Regions from separate parts of the Homo sapiens genome. Here region 2 is linked to region 1. The links are contacts of gene promoters, found by promoter capture Hi-C in blood cells and fetal thymus (Javierre and others, 2016). All regions are on one chromosome and are shown on one strand. Each heading gives the region's core, a stretch centred on a gene start or on the middle of the fragment in contact. The rest is flanking DNA. Distances are from core to core; before and after follow the strand shown. Region 1 holds the start of TSSK4 (testis specific serine kinase 4). Region 2 holds the start of DHRS1 (dehydrogenase/reductase 1).

Region 1 (5,457 bases), core at 280-2,779:
AATTGGGGAGGTAAGCAGGATCAGACTTAAAGCTGTGTGAAAGAATTTGGATGGACTTGATCCTAAAGAGAATGGGGAGACACTGAATTGTTTCAAATGGAAATAAAATCAGATTTATGCTTTGGACTTGGGATGGACAGACTGGAGTGGAGCAGAAGGCTGGCGGGGGCCATCTGTTCGATGATGGAGGCGTGAACTAAGGGATTAGCAGTGGGCTCAGAAAACCATGAGAATATTATCAAAGAGAGAATCAGGAGGTATAAGAGATAGGATTTCGTGATAGATTGAATGTAGGGACTGAGGCAGGAGGGTCTGGGATGACATATGAGTGTCTAAATTAAGGGTGATTAGTGTACAACTCACAGAAAAGTCTGAGAGAAGAAAATAAGTTCAATTATTGATATGGTTAAGTTTGAGATGGATATGGTAAGTTCCATGCCTGGGGCAGACATGGCCACGTAATACTGGCTGCTCTATCTAAACTCCAGATATATGGGATGGAGATGAAATTAGGAGCAGTCAGCATAAATGTAGTATTGACACCATGGGTATGGACAAGATTAAGGGAGGATGTGAAGGTTTGAGAAAATAAAGCTTGTGATGTAACACTTGGGATATGATTAAGGGATGGATAGAGAAAGATATAACTTCAGTGAAGGCTGAGGAGTGACCAGAAGGATGTGGAGGAAAACTAGAGAGTTCTGGCTCATAGAAGATAAGGATGCATTTCAAGGTTAGATTTTCCTAGAACATGTTCAATACCTTACAATGGTAATACTTTCACACTCGTATTTCTCATGCTGCATTATAAGCTTTAGGATCATAGTGTCTCTATTGGCCTTATTGAACTAAGGGGGCTGCAATGGGCTCGGAAAGCCTTGAGTGTATCATTAAAGAGATAAGTAGGAGATAGCAGAGACAGGATTTGATGAAAGATTGTATGTAGGGATTGAGGAAGGAGGAAGGGTCTGGCATGACATTTGGGTGACATTTTATCCAAGTATTCAGCACAGTGTCTGGTACTTAGTAGGTACTCATATATCAATGAAAGGTCTGATCTTTAGGAGTTTCACCAGACTGTGGAAGGTGCCTCTGGGAATGAGTACGTTTCCAACTGCACTTCATTCTCTTTTTTTTTTTTTTTTTTTTTGAGACGGAGTCTCGCTCTGTCGCCCAGGCTGGAGTGCAGTGGCGCAATCTCGGCTCACTGCAAGCTCTGCCTCCCAGGTTCACGCCATTCTCCTGCCTCAGCCTCCCAAGTAGCTGGGACTACAGGCGCCCGCCACTACGCCCGGCTAATTTTTTGTATTTTTAGTAGAGACGGGGTTTCACCGTTTTAGCCGGGATGGTCTCGATCTCCTGACCTCGTGATCCGCCCGCCTCGGCCTCCCAAAGTGCTGGGATTACAGGCGTGAGCCACCGCGCCCGGCCGCACTTCATTCTCAAGTTTTGTGGCCAACGATGGATAGGAGGTGGATTGTGATGTATTCGGAACATGGGACCTTGAGGAGTTCCGTAACCAAAAGGAGAAAGTAACAACAGCCAGTGGAGACAAAAAGAACTGCTTCTCTTTCTTTCCCCCTCCAAGTTCCTAGTGGAGGGCTGAGTCCAGCATCCCAGACTCGTGTGACTATATAGGCAAGCATTTGGGGACCTACTTCACTTTGATACCCTAGCCTTCAGCAGCTCAAGGTGTTGGCCTTTGGATAGGAGGCTTCCAAGTAGTAAAGCTCCCTGCTCTCAGCAAGCCCAACACCATGGGGAAGGGAGATGTCTTAGAGGCAGCACCAACCACCACAGCCTACCATTCCCTCATGGATGAATATGGTTATGAGGTGGGCAAGGCCATTGGCCATGGCTCCTATGGGTCGGTATATGAGGCTTTCTACACAAAGCAGAAGGTTATGGTGGCAGTCAAGATCATCTCAAAGAAGAAGGCCTCTGATGACTATCTTAACAAGTTCCTGCCCCGTGAAATACAGGTTGGAAAGGGGGCTGGAAGAGGGAACTGGAGCTTGGTACTAAGCTGCTTGAGGTTTCTCAGAAGGGGTATGGCCAGGAGGGGTGGGGCCAGAAACCCCTAAACCAGAACTGAAATGTCTCACTAAGCAGCTAGGAAACTTTATGTAAGTTAAACCTCTTTCCCATCCACCCACTCACCTTCAGTCCCCAAAAAGTAAAGGCACAAAACATAGCATTTGCCCACAGGCCACCAGTTCTCTGGGGTTGAGGGGCTGATCCTATTGCAAAGTCCTAAGTCAGTAGCTGAGGGTAGGAGACGGCTGGGAGTGCAGTCAGGGTTCTCCCTTCCCAGGTTTGATGGGTCCTTCTTCTGGGGTCAGGTAATGAAAGTCTTGCGGCACAAGTACCTCATCAACTTCTATCGGGCCATTGAGAGCACATCTCGAGTATACATCATTCTGGAACTGGCTCAGGGTGGTGATGTCCTTGAATGGATCCAGCGCTACGGGGCCTGCTCTGAGCCCCTTGCTGGCAAGTGGTTCTCCCAGCTGACCCTGGGCATTGCCTACCTGCACAGCAAGAGCATCGTGCACCGGTGAGGGCGCTGCCACCCAGACTGGGGCCTTTGCCCTCAAGGGGGTTTTATGCACATCTCCCATTTCCTGTCCTTTTTTCCTCTTTCGAACTCCCTCCTCAATATCTAGCCTATTCATGCACTCTATTTTAATCATATGGTCAAGGATACTGATAAAGTACTCACTGTATGCAAAGCATTTTATGAAATACAATGGTGAGCTCCCGGTGGTCCTCAGATACCATCCTCTGTCTCTCTCCCTACTTTGGGCTCTGCTCACAACTCCATGGCTTTCCTTCCTCTCTACCTTGTGCCCTCATAATGGTTTCTACCTCCCACTTCCTCTGTCCTCATCTTTACCCTCTGACCCCTGGCCCTTCAGCTCCCAGTCTAAAACTAAGCCCTCTCCCCAGCCTGATGCCCAGCCTTTCTGCTGCTGGTAGGGACTTAAAGTTGGAGAACCTGTTGCTGGACAAGTGGGAGAATGTGAAGATATCAGACTTTGGCTTTGCCAAGATGGTGCCTTCTAACCAGCCTGTGGGTTGTAGCCCTTCTTACCGCCAAGTGAACTGCTTTTCCCACCTCAGCCAGACTTACTGTGGCAGCTTTGCTTACGCTTGCCCAGAGATCTTACGAGGCTTGCCCTACAACCCTTTCCTGTCTGACACCTGGAGCATGGGCGTCATCCTTTACACTCTAGTGGTCGCCCATCTGCCCTTTGATGACACCAATCTCAAAAAGCTGCTAAGAGAGACTCAGAAGGAGGTCACTTTCCCAGCTAACCATACCATCTCCCAGGAGTGCAAGGTACTGGCTACCTAAGGAGGGCTGAGCCTTCAGGGATGACCCACAGGGAGGGGTGAATATCCAACCTAGGTCACCCAACCTAGGCCTCCCAACCCTGGGGAAAGGCTCTTCCCACACCAGAGCCATCTCACACACTAGCTCCTGTCCTATAATAAACAGTATGGAAGGCATAAAGGGCCAACCACTAGGCTCCAAACCTTGCCTGATACACAGGTTCCAGCTTCTTTCTCTTTAGGCCAGAAGGGAAATATGGAAAGCATTCCTCCCAAGGAACTCTTCCCTTCCCCTCCAGGGAGTTAACTGCCTGGGTCTCCAAGATAAAATCAGAGCCACACCCACTTTGACCAGAGTGGTATGATGGGCTATCCTGCTTCTTTCTTAGGTCCAACTGCTCATTGCCTGTGTGGCACAATGGAGAAAAACTCAGGCAAGACCTCTCTCTCCCCTGCTCTAGAACCTGATCCTCCAGATGCTACGCCAAGCCACTAAGCGTGCCACCATTCTGGACATCATCAAGGATTCCTGGGTGCTCAAGTTCCAGCCTGAGCAACCCACCCATGAGATCAGGCTGCTTGAGGCCATGTGCCAGCTCCACAACACCACTAAACAGCACCAATCCTTGCAAATTACGACCTGAAAATGGCTGAGGGAGGGGGCTAAGAGAGGAGCAAAGCAGGAGGTCTTGGGCTAAAAATCTTTTTTACCAAAAATAAATCTAAGTCTGATTTAGTTTCATCAACTAGGGTCAAAGACATTCTTTTCTCAAGGCAATCTTATAGCAGGGAACACTGCTGGAGTAAGAGATAGATTTCTGCCCAGAGCCTGTAACCAATAATCTTGACACTGTGTTAAATCAATAGTGTAATTCATGATGTGGCTCTTAGGGGATGGGGTGCTCAGATTAACGCTCTATTTTGGGAAGCTTTATTATTCAACTCAACATATGCTCATTATTTTACATCTTTGTGCTGTTTAAATGCTCAAGTAGTGGGGTAAAAGCCCTGGTTCTTCCACTTTGATTATGGCTCTGCCTGTCTATAGTCCAAAGTAATGGCACTGTTAGTTCTTTTAGAAATGGGTATTCGAGCTGGGTGCGGTGGCTCACGCCTGTAATCCCAACACTTTGGGGGGCCGAGGCGGGCAGATCACTTGAGGTCAAGAGTTCGAGACCAGACTGGCCAACATGGCAAAACCCTGTCTCTATGAAAAATACAAAAATTAGCCGGGCATAGTGGCACCTGGCTGAGGCAGGAGAATCACTTGAACCCGGGATGCAGGGGTTGCAGTGAGCCGAGATCGCGCCACTGCACTCCAGCCTGGGCGACAAAGTGAGACTCTGTCTCAAAAAAAAAAAAAAAAGAAAAGAAAAGAAATGGGTATTCGGGTGTATGAAGTACCTTGGTTCCTTTTCCCTCTTCCAGTGTCACCTTAACCACTACTGACACAATAGCAGGGAGACAAGGCTTCTCACACAATTGTTCCCAGACACAGAATTCAAACCAAGCCTTCTAGTAGTGAAAGCTACTAACTATGGGTTCTGGATAAAGGAAAGCTACTTGCTCCTTCCATTCCAAGTAGCAAAGCTACTTGCTCCTTCCATTCCAAGTAGCAAAGCTACTTGCTCCTTCCATTCCAAGTAGCAAAGCTACTTGCTCCTTCCATTCCAAGTAGCAAAGCTACTTGCTCCTTCCATTCCAAGTAGCAAAGCTACTTGCTCCTTCCATTCCAAGTAGCAAAGCTACTTGCTCCTTCCATGGTATTCTCCCTCCTTGTCCTTGAAAATGGGCTTTGTAAAAGAAATTTGGGGCTGTCTTGGCAGAGGCACGACCAGGGGAAAGCAATGAGGGAAGACTCAGAGATGCCTCCACGTGGTTCTAAGTGGTAGATGGCAGTTTCTTCAGCCTCAGCAACTAGGCAACTCTAGGACAAACCGGCTTGAAAGATGAAATAATGTTTGCCTGGAACATAGGTTGAGATACTAGGAATGCCCATTTGTTCTATGTTCCAACCCCCCTTCTTTGCTCTAATTATTCATTGCTTGAAATAAGGCTCCAAGGGCCAGGGGAACAGCTTCAGGGGTAGACAAGGCAGTATAGACACTAGGATTCCATCTG
Region 2 (4,977 bases), core at 2,478-4,977, 94 kb after region 1:
ACTCTGACCCGGCAGTGCCCTTGCCTGTGGGTGTGGAGTGAGGATGTGGAGACTAAACAGCATTGGTGTTCGCTCCTTCTTCTTAAGCTTCTCCCAGTCTAAAATAAAACAATTTCTCCCTCTAACCATTTTGAAAGTATAGACTACAGGCTGTGCGCATTACTGAGAGGAGGAGGCTTCCTCCCTTCTGGGTCTTGCATTTGGATGGGCAGAGAGTGAGACAGGAGAGAGGCCAAGGGCTTGTTCCAATGAAAATTACTGACAGAGTTGACATTCTCAGGTACAGACTCACCTGGATGGAACTTCTCCAGAGGTAAGTGGGACAAATGGAATGGAAGGGAGAAGAAAGAGATGGGGGAGGCCGGAGGGAAAAGGAGAGGGCATGTAAGGAAAGGCCTGGCCGTCGAGTTGGCTAAGTGAGTGAGGGAACATGGGTCCTGGCAGTGGAGCACCCACCTGAGTCCGACGTTGTTGATATCATCCCACATGGAGGCAGGGGTTTCCCAGAATGCCTTATTCCTGGTGTTCAGGATCGTCTGGAAGGCACAGGGAGGGTGATGAATGATCTGAAGGTAGGGAGGTGTGAGGGGCTGGGTAATGGAAGGGACAATGAGTGGGGATGAAGATGCAGGGGTCTGAGGGGGAGGTCAGAAATGTGGAGTTGGGAACAAAGTTCAAAGGGTACCTGGACCCCTGCATAAGCATTGTTGACCAGCACATCTAGACGCCCTTGCTGTTCCCGATCCACTTGCTCAAACAGGCTTCGCACTTCACTCTCCTGGCTTGAATCGCACACCACAGGCACACATTGGCCCCCGAGGGATTGTGCCTGGAGTAGGACAGGGGATATGAGCTCACATTCACACATGGGTGTGAGTCATGACAAAACTCCCCAACCAAAGTGGGCTTGAGAACTGAGAAGACAATCAATCCTAGGAGAGCCTGCTGCAGAGGCAACATGGCAGGCAACGCTGCCCTCTGGTGTCTGTTTGAGTAGTTTCAGGAATGATAGGCCTCCCCACCACAGAGCAAGGTGAATTGCAATGTAAGTTTTAATAATCTACAAACATTTACTGAGGCCCACCATGTGCACAGCATTGTACTTTGCAAGTAGAGGGTAAGAACAAGTGAGGCATGGAGTCTGCTCTTGAGAAATGAGTAAGCATCCTTTTCCTTGTTGTGGTCATTTCCATCTCTCATGCCCTTAGCTCCCACCCTACACTACTCACCTAAAACCTCTACTCAGTCCCAGTTGTCTTACCCTCACTCCACCAATGCTCCTGGTTGGTAATTGAAAAAACCAAAGCTATCAGCCATGAATGATTTCTACTTCCTGTTCTGTCTCACTCTCTACAAATGCCCACAAACCTCCAACTTCAGAGGAAGAAGAGTCCTTTATCTAAGAACAATCCTCCTATTCTCCAAATTTATGCTCTGGGTCCCCGCCTATTACCCTCCTTGCCTGAACTACTGCAATGCCTCCCAACGACTCACCTGACCTCCAGTCTGTCTGCCTTAAATTAATTCTTCATAATCCAGCCAGTACGACCTATCTAAAACACAAACCCTGTTCAAAATCTCCTAACTGGATCTCCATCTCTTAGAGGATGAAGCCTGAGTTCTCTATTAGGGTCTTCCAAGACCCACTCTTTCCTCTCCAGCCTCTCACTCACTACTCTTCCCTTGCATTATCTCACACATCTACTCTTTCACACAGCGTCCCTATGCTTATGGAGCTCCCTCTGCTGGAATGCTTTTCCTAACTTCCTTTACCTAATTCTTACCTTTCAAAACTCAGTTCAAGAACCACCTACCTCCTCCAGGACGCTTTCCCAAACCACTTTCCCTAGCCACTCTCCTATGTCATCTGGATGCTCCCCAACACCCCTAGAGTATTCTGTGCATATCTCCCTCTTATAATTTACCATATTCACATTACATTGAAGTGACTGCTTTCTGTACCTGACTTCCTGTTGGAATCTATCTTCATTTTTAATTAAAATTTTTTTTTTTAGAGACAGGGTCTCACTGTCACCAGGCTGGAGTGCAGTGGTGCAATCATAGCTCACTGCAACCTCGAACTCCTGGGCTCAAACGATCCTCCTGCCTCAGCCTCCCAAGTAGATGGTACTACAGGTGCAGGCCACTGTGCCTAGCTAATTATTTAAAAAATATTTTTTGTAGAGACTGGGTCTAGCTATGTTGCCCAGACTGGTCTCCAACTGCTGGCCTCAAGTGATCTTGCTGCCTTGGCCACCCAAAGTGCTGGGACTACAGGCATGAGCCACTGTACTCCACCATGGACTGAATCTTTGAAGAGCAGAAATTAGATTTTATTAGTCTTGGTAACTTCAGTGGTTTACCAATGCCTAGCAAATCATGGATACTCAAATATTTATTTAACTGAAGTCTAGTAAATAAGTAAAAAATGTGCAGTTCAATAAAGTCTTGCCTGAAATAGAGGAAAGCACAGGTCCACAACCCTTTAGTTGCAATTCCAAAATCTCTGCTCTCAAACAAAAAGTTTTTTACTTTTCTTTCTTTTCTTTTTTTTAATACAGTGTCTCGCTGTGTCGTCTAGACTGGAGTGCAGTGGTGTGATCATGGCTCAACTCCTAGGCTCAAGCGATCCTCCTGCCTCAGCCTCCGGAGTAGCTGCTGGGACTGCAGGAACGTGCCACCATGCCTGGCTCAAACACAAAGTTTTTTCATAAAACTCACTTGGCGGCAAAATTCTACCTTACCTGAAGTTATTTACGGGGTTTTTAATTTCCACTTTGAATAAATATTCACATCTTGTTGAGTAGTATTATAGTTTCAGGTAAGGGATTAGGAAAGGAGCTGTTAAGTGGAAGGGCTCTCTCGGGTGGTTTCTGCAACTGTGGTCCCAGAGGAAGCACTCACCTCCTGAGCAACAACGCGAAGGGTGTCCAGATGGCGGCCAGTGATGTAAACTGTGGCGCCTGCTTTGCAGAGCTGCAAGGCAATGCCACGGCCAATACCCCTGGAGGCACCAGTCACCACACACACTTGGCCATTCATGGGAGCTGCCATGACTCACAGGCAAAGGAGGCAGGTCTGTGGAAGCAAAGACTTACTCTGAGGGAAGCCTGGAGACTGTGTGTGTGTTGGGGCGAGGTTGGGGGGTAGGGGAGAACCTCACTAGGGCTAAGAGGAGGAGCCAAGGTAAGAATCCTTTGAGGGGAGAGGAGTCAGAGGCTGACAACTGGGTGCGGGCCTGAGGACAAGGCTGACTGTCTTTTGGGAGGCCCAGAGAGTGAAGAAGGGGCTGAGTGGGACTGTCCAGAGGTGGACAACTACTACAACCCTCTGAGTGTGGCTGCCTGGATATGGGAATCTGGCGCGGCAGCCCCTCGGGGCGCGTCCACGCAGAGTCCTGGGCTATCTGAAGCTCCGGTCCCTGGCCTGACCCAGTCCGGCTGAGCCAGAGGCGCAGCTTCCGGGCCGGGGATGAGCGCGAAGCCTGGAGATCCTAAGCCCTAAGTGGGACGAGCGTGCGCCGCTTACCTGCCACCTGCGCTGCCGCTGAGGTCTGCAGATTGCGGGGCTGCGGTGGAAGTCTGGGTTCTCGCCCAGATTGAGCCGGCGACGTGGAGGCAGTGTTCAAGGATTGATTCTGTAGTAGGACCCGGGGCGATTCTGTGCTGAGGTAGAGGGGCAGAGTCCCAGGCCAAAGTTAGAACCTGCGGATGGGGGCGGAGCGATCTGGGTGACACACCCACCCCGCCCGGCTGGGGCGGCGCGGAACTATGACGTAGTAGCTGCGTCAGGAGCGCGCCCGCGTTTCTAAACTTTGTCTGGATAAGGCGCACGCTTGGCGACGTCGAAGGTCCGTCCGCAGTTAAGGAAGCTTTTGCAGCCGGACAGGTCGCGAAGCACACATGGGGCAGGGTCCGCGCTCTCCACACAAGGTGGGGCGCCGGTTCCCAGCTGGTGGCAAACGGGGGCGCGGGGCCAAGGGGTCGGGGCGCCCCTTACCAGGCCGTAAGCGGCAACCCTGGCCGCCTCCGGATGGGCGCTCGGAGCCGGCTCCAGATTCGCACCCGCACCTGAGCCCGGAAGCTCTGGGATATTTCCGCCGGGCGCTGTCAGCATTGAAAGAGGCTCCCGAGACTGGGGAAGAACGAGGTAGGCAGCAACTTCGGGGTTTAGACCAAGAGCATCAAATCCAGGGCAGGCAAGGAAACTTTCTAGGGTCGGCAGGGCGTGGGGACTTAGTTTCATTTCCCATGTCCTCTTCCTCGGCCTCCGACCCACGACCCTTGGTTAAGCGAGGGTACATAACTGTATTCTCTACTAAGTCTCTTCAAAGTGTGTCTTTCTTCCCTTTTCAGATCTGATGGTGCACAATATAATGAAGGAAGTAGAGACTCAGGCCCTAGCTTTGTCCACGAACAGGACTGGCAGTGAGATGCTGCAGGAACTGTTGGGATTCAGTCCCTTGAAACCGCTTTGTCGCGTGTGGGCTGCTCTGCGCTCTAACTTGCGCACTGTGGCCTGTCACCGATGCGGGGTCCATGTATTACAAAGTGCTTTGCTACAGCTCCCTCGATTGCTGGGGAGTGCTGCAGAGGAGGAGGAGGAGGAGGAGGAGGATGGAAAGGATGGTCCCACGGAGACCCTGGAGGAGCTGGTCCTGGGACTAGCCGCTGAGGTGTGTGATGATTTTCTTGTCTACTGTGGAGACACACATGGCAGCTTCGTGGTCAGAACTCTGCTTCAGGTGTTAGGAGGGACTATTCTGGAGTCTGAGAGAGCCAGGCCCCGTGGTTCCCAATCATCTGGTAAGTATTACAAGAGGAAAGTGGACCTAGGGGGAAGAAGAATTTAGAAAGTTCAGAATGAGACAGTAAACAGAAGAGTAAGTCTTCATGGGGGAGCTTGACCGGGAAGAATTAGCTTGACCTGTCCTAATCTGAACAGGGCTTAGCAAGCCAAAGATTAGTGTGTGCGGAG

The links. The method cuts DNA at HindIII sites, captures the fragments that hold promoters and counts their contacts. A CHiCAGO score of 5 or more calls a contact.
Region 2: a contact is called between the fragment with the promoter of DHRS1 here and the fragment with the promoter of TSSK4 in region 1, in 17 of 17 cell types (naive CD8 T cells, naive B cells, total B cells and 14 more). The highest score is 22.1, in naive CD8 T cells.

What each region holds. Positions count from the first base shown.
Region 1 is chr14:24,204,167-24,209,623 of GRCh38, forward strand. TSSK4 (testis specific serine kinase 4) reads left to right here and starts at 1,530. Exons shown (of 4, transcript NM_001184739.2): 1 at 1,530-1,982; 2 at 2,343-2,557; 3 at 2,950-3,343; 4 at 3,798-4,082. The coding sequence starts at 1,758. The coding sequence ends at 3,980. It overlaps CHMP4A (charged multivesicular body protein 4A), which reads right to left. Exons shown (of 6, transcript NM_014169.5): 6 at 5,449-5,457. RefSeq lists an enhancer at 1-61. The HindIII fragment of the contact is 3,453 bases long and covers 811-4,263 here.
Region 2 is chr14:24,296,053-24,301,029 of GRCh38, forward strand. DHRS1 (dehydrogenase/reductase 1) reads right to left here and starts at 3,728. Exons shown (of 9, transcript NM_001136050.3): 1 at 3,529-3,728; 2 at 2,905-3,078; 3 at 686-829; 4 at 457-536. The coding sequence starts at 3,054. It overlaps NOP9 (NOP9 nucleolar protein), which reads left to right and starts at 3,798. Exons shown (of 10, transcript NM_174913.3): 1 at 3,798-4,149; 2 at 4,356-4,805. The coding sequence starts at 3,903. RefSeq lists an enhancer at 2,282-3,072. The HindIII fragment of the contact is 3,784 bases long and covers 86-3,869 here.